Linked DNA regions of Homo sapiens: region 2 is linked to region 1. Evidence: promoter capture Hi-C in 16 types of primary human blood cells and fetal thymus (Javierre and others, 2016). All regions are on one chromosome and are shown on one strand. Each heading gives the region's core, a stretch centred on a gene start or on the middle of the fragment in contact. The rest is flanking DNA. Distances are from core to core; before and after follow the strand shown.

What was found. The method cuts DNA at HindIII sites, captures the fragments that hold promoters and counts their contacts. A CHiCAGO score of 5 or more calls a contact.
Region 2: a fragment that was not itself captured here is called in contact with the fragment with the promoter of IKZF5 in region 1 in 3 of 17 cell types (fetal thymus, activated CD4 T cells and naive CD4 T cells); the score reaches 8.2 in fetal thymus.

What each region holds. Positions count from the first base shown.
Region 1 is chr10:123,007,353-123,010,052 of GRCh38, reverse strand. It overlaps IKZF5 (IKAROS family zinc finger 5), which reads left to right and starts at 1,258. Exons shown (of 5, transcript NM_001372123.1): 1 at 1,258-1,359. ACADSB (acyl-CoA dehydrogenase short/branched chain) reads right to left here and starts at 1,047. Exons shown (of 11, transcript NM_001609.4): 1 at 982-1,047. The coding sequence starts at 1,023. RefSeq lists enhancers at 1,142-1,471, 1,752-1,981. The HindIII fragment of the contact is 4,856 bases long and covers 1-2,541 here.
Region 2 is chr10:124,388,053-124,390,752 of GRCh38, reverse strand. No RefSeq gene overlaps it. Among named protein-coding and RNA genes, the nearest start is that of OAT, 30 kb to the left of the region's middle. RefSeq lists a silencer at 1,247-1,536. The HindIII fragment of the contact is 3,581 bases long and covers 1-2,700 here.

The DNA of each region.
Region 1 (2,700 bases), core at 9-2,508:
CAGGCCTGTAAAACAGTCAAATAACATTAATTATCTCTAATAAGAAAAAGGGTCAGAGTTCTGCCTCTGGGCATAAGACTGAAGCAGCAGTTGGAAAGCCTAACTCATTAAAGCAAATGCAAAGGAAACATTAAAAGCACACGTAAGCAGTGGGAAAATTCCCAGTGAAGTGTACTGACAAATACAAGTGTATCCAAATGTGTATGTTCTGAAAAGCATGCTATATAATAGGTCCAAGGGGTGAAGAGCATAGGATGTTAACACAGGGGCTGTTAACAGTTTGTGTGGGTGCACAGATAAGAATTAAGCACAACAAGAGGCTGGTTTCAGCTTAAGTTCATGGAAGAGGGACCGGCACCGGCTCCGGCTCCCCTGGGCGGCGGTGAGTCTATCCACGGAAGATACCCAGGCTCCAGACATGAGATAAGGGGCAGAGGGAACTCTGTCCCTGGCCGGGAAGCCCGAACAACTCCGAAGTCCCTTACTACCTTTGAGCGGGGCCGCGGAAGGAAGGACAGGGAGACACCTGCTCAGAATGAGACTGGGCCTATATTTTAACTATCTTTTTTGGGGGAGGGGGTGTGAAATGTAATCACTCGGGAAAGGTGCGTTAGGGCATCAGGGAGGTGACATCTGTGCAAAATGCATCCAGAGATCCAGAGATCCAGACTCGGTGGCTCTCAGGACGCAACGGCCTGCAAAGGACATCTTGCGGACGCGACCCTCCGACTCCACTCAAGGTACTTGCTCCGCCAAAGCAGCTTCTAGACAGCCCCGACCCCCTTGCCACCAGCTGCCTCCACCAGAGGCCTGAAGGGGGTCGGGGTCATAGACTGCCCGCGGGTAAAGAGTCTGGGGACCCAGGACGTGGAGCGGGGCTCAGGCCGGCGCCCCGAGGCCCGTTAGAAGGCTCTGCCAGCTGCGATTCCAGGGGCCAAGGTCGCCCTGGGCCCCCAGGACGCCAGCCTCGAACGCACTCACCAGCCTGCTGCCGCGCAGCAACCGCACTGCCAGGCCCTCCATCCTCGCCGCAGGCCTCTCCGCTCTGCGCCTCTGGGTCTCTAGCCAGCCCCTGGGAGTTACCCGAGCAAGGCCCCGCCCACTCAGTACCCGCCCCGCACACACCCCCCCTTAATCCCTGCCCCCTGCTGCCTACGGAACCCCAAGAGAGACAAACAGGCCCCTCCTCGCTTTCGCCCTCCATCCTGCTCACGCGAGACTTGAGCAAGGCAGGGGGGCGGGAAGGGAGTCGGAGACACAACAAAGATGGCGGCGGCGACTGTGACGGTGACGAAGACGGCGGCGGCGGCGACGGCATTTAACAAGGCGGTGTGGTTTACTCCATGCAGTTGTCAGGAGGTAAGTAGCAGGCTGCCGGCTCGGACGGCGGCGACGCGGCAGGACAGGGCGGATAAGAAGGAGCGGCCGGAGACTGGAGCTGGGTTCGTGGCGGGCCGGCTGATCCGGACGGAGACTCAGTTCAGTGGAGGGTCGGGCGTGGTCGGTAGGCGGGCAGGTGATGGCCCGGGACCTCTTTAGCCGGAGGGCAGTGGACTGCGGCGCCTATGGCCGCGAGAACCCCGAGGGAGCGGGGTCTCCTGCTGTCATTGCCTTCGAGCAGGAGCTCGGAGGCTCCGGGGCGGGGACTGTTGCTTGGCTCTGACAGGTGGTTCTGCGGGAGGCGTCCCGAGGTTTGCGTCTTCACGGGGTCCCAGGGGCTGGGAGTCAGCCGGGCGCGGGTCTCCTAGGTGTTTCGAATCCTGGCGAGGATGTCGCTCCGAATCTTGGTGAGGCTGCTGCCCCGACGCCGGTCCCAGGCTGATTGTTGGGAGAAGGACGTTTAAAGCCTTCGTATTTTATCTAATGATCCTGCCCGGATCCGTCTCTACTGCATGGGCACCCTTATTTTAGGAACATGTGAGATTTGAGAAAGACATTGTAGCAAATAACTATTCAGGTTCATTCGGGGTTTAGATCTTTGGATAAACTGTGTGGAGCGCGAGTAGCCAAGCCTAGCATGCTCGATGACTGGATCTGAAGCTAAACAAGTTCTAGCAAACACTAACCACGTGGCCTGCTTAGAGTCCCCTTGATGTGCTGGTCAGAACCCGAAAGACGTGTGACAAGCGGAAGAAGACATAAAGGCGTCTTAAATTGTGTGATCTGAGGAAATTCAGTTTTGAAAGAACAGAATGTATTTAAAACAACTTTTTTTTAAACGTAGGAACTAACAATTTTAAAAATTCAATTTAATTTTGATTTATGTCGTGTTGTCACAACAGCTAAAGGTTATTATTATTGATGAGAGTTCGTTACAGTGAATTGAAATGTCTGGTGTTATTTTCCCCTAGCGGTCCAGGATGTTTCCCAGAAAACCGTAGCTGTTTTGTGTTATGATAGGATAAGAAGGATGGGATTCAGATGTGCCCTTATCGGGTGTGCATGTTTTTTTTGTTTTTGTATTTAAAGCCCTTTCCCATTTCCCTACTTAGGACTATGCGTTGTTTTTATGCAACTACAGCTGTTCAGCAGTACTAAGCTTGACCGTTTTGGAAGTGTGCTGTGACTAAATGAAGTTAATCTTAATTTCTTTAAACTGAAGTTTAACTTAAATTTAGACATTAAAAATCTTGCCAAAAACTAATCCACCAGTGAGAAAACGGTAGTCACACCAGTTATTCTTTGGTGATCCTATGGAGC
Region 2 (2,700 bases), core at 85-2,584, 1.4 Mb before region 1:
TTTGCATCACAATACTTAAGAGCCCAGCAGATGATTGCTGCAAATAAGCCTTGTGTGGAATAGCCAAGCATGGCTCAAGGCAGGGTTCGGGAGGACCACCGACAGCTCAGGCTTGCACATCCATGGGGATGCAGGGTCTGGGGGCCTTTGATCTTGGTGGCTTTCTCCTAGGCCAGTCTCTGAGACCGGCAGTGAAGGGCAAGTGGGATCCACCAGCCCCTACTCTCTCCTGCCTTCCTTTTTATCACAACATCTCTTTAATTTATGGCCCCTGAGTGCCAAGCCGTGTACCTGTGAACAAATGGAGTAATTACTCCTGGGAGAAATAGAAAAACATGGATGCAGACCATACAGAAAGCTGCCGGCTTTCAGTGGGGTGACCTGGGAGTGATCACCGGGTGAGGGTGTCCTGCCAGTGTTCTAGGAATCCTGGAATCATGGAGGGTCTCCTGCCAGTGTTTTCATGTTACTGGAGGCTCAGAGAGCGGAAGGGACTTGTCCACCGGCTGCGCTCCCTGGGACAGAAACCTGGGGAGGCCTCCTGATGATGACGGGAGGCGGTGGCGTGGGTGGTTGCTGCGAGGCTCAGAGCTTCGGTTTTGCTTTTGCCTCTGACAACCAGGATGACCTCTGGCAACTCAATGCCTCTCTGTCCTTTATCGAATGAGGGGGTTGAATTAGGACAGAACAGTCACGGGTGGTTTCACAACAGGTGTATGTTCTGAGAAATGCGTCCTTTGGCGATTTTCTCGTTATGTGAACATCATGGCGTGTACTTACACAACCTAGATGGCACAGCCTGCTACGACACAATGCTAAGTATTTGCATAGCTAAACACAGAAAAGGCACAGTAAAAATATGGTATAATCTTTTGGGACCTCCGCCATATTAGAAGGGCATGACTGCCTGGTCTCTGGAGGTGGGGGTGAGGACTGACCAGGTGAGCCTGAGCCCCCATCCAGTGGGCACCGGGCTCAGGTGGGCGCGCGACGGGTCTTGGGAACTGACAGAGGAGCCAGGGTCTGAGGCCCCCGGCAGGTTTTATATAGAGATGGCCAGAAAAGCGCCCCCACGTCCTGTGAGGTTCCCATTCCCCCGTCTTGGGTTTTAAGATCCCCTTGAGACTTAGTTTCCCCCAAAGTCAGTTTCCCGAGAAAAGGAGGCCCCATTTCAGCAGAAAGGGGCTTCGAGCTCCAGGGAGAGGACGGGGGTGTGGCGAGTTGTCCCCTCCCCTCCAAGACTCAGCGCCCACGCGCAAGTCAATAACCCCAAGTCCGGGTCCTGGGGCTTTTGGCCGGAACTGCTCGCAGCCATAGGGCCCCACGCGCGTTGGGACGGCAGGGGGCGCTGCCCGCAAAGCGTTGCTTCCCGGCCGTCCTGCGAGCCCGCGAGATGCGCGTGCGCGAGGCCGGGGCTCGGGAGCTGGGGCGGGGCCGTGGGCGGGGCCAGGAGCCGCGCTGGGGACCGTGCCCTCCTCCGCCGAGGCCTGTAGGGCGCTCGCTCTTCGCTGGGCCGAGTCCCCCCGCGCGCTGCAGAGCAATACAGTTCTGTAAAAGTTTATTATTCTGACGTTGGAATATGCTCCTTGGAGACAATTCAGAACTTGCAGAAACCAGAGCCCCGCGGCCCCTCCCTGCGTAGACTGCGGGCGGCTGTCCCGGGCGTGGGCTGCGGCCCCGCGGGCCCATGCGTGTTCTGGGGACTCTGGGGCGCTGGTTCAGTCCCGCGTGTGTGGGAGTCACGTTCACCTCCTCAGTGCCAGGTGCTGTCCGCGCACCCGTCGGAGCGCCTCGGTTCACCGTGCAGAGGTGTGGGCTCCGGGGCAGGGAAGGGTCCACCCCACCTCCCGCGCTGCAGCGAGCTTGACAGGTGGTGATCCTGGACAGGCGCATCCGTTGGGCCGGGGGCAGGGGCGCTCTGACCCTGTGGGCAGGGCCTCCCGGGACTCTGCCCGGAGCTCCTGGCTGGGCTGTGCCCGGAGGGATCTGAGTGGTGGTCCTTGGGCCCTTGCGGGCCTCAGTTTTTGCCACTGTGCAATGGCCTTACTCATACCTGCCCTGGTGATTGGGGGACCGAAGTTGTGCAGGGGGTGGGAGGATGCGGGGCCTGGTCTCTGCCTGGCTGGGGCCCACCTTGATCCGTGTGGCCCTGCTGAGCCCTGTCCACTGGTCACTGAGATAGTGACGGTCCTGGGCTGGGCAGGAGTGGCAGGCCCTGGGTGTGTGGATGCCATAGGAGGAGAAAGAGCTTTTCCTCACCGTCCTAGGTTCCTGCCTGGGACTCATATAACAAGAGAATAACATACACATTTATTTAATATAATTTTTACCGGATGCAGGAGCCTTCATAAGGAAATGAAGACCCAAAGAAATGTGTAAACCTGTGTGTGTGTGTGTGTGTGTGTGTTTTTGAGACAGAGTTTCACTCTTGTTGCCCAGGCTGGAGTGCAATGGCAGGATCTTGGCTCACTGCAGCCTCCACCTCCTGGGTTCAAGCGTTTCTCCTGTCTCAGCCTCCCAGGTAGCTGGGATTACAGGCGCATGCCACCAGGCCCGGCCAATTTTTGTATTTTTAGTAGAGATGGGGTTTCATCATATTGGTCAGGCTGGTCTCGAACTCCTGACCTCAGGTGATCCGCCCACCTCGGCCTCCCAAAGTGCTGGGATTACAGGCGTGAGCCACCACACCCAGCCAAACCT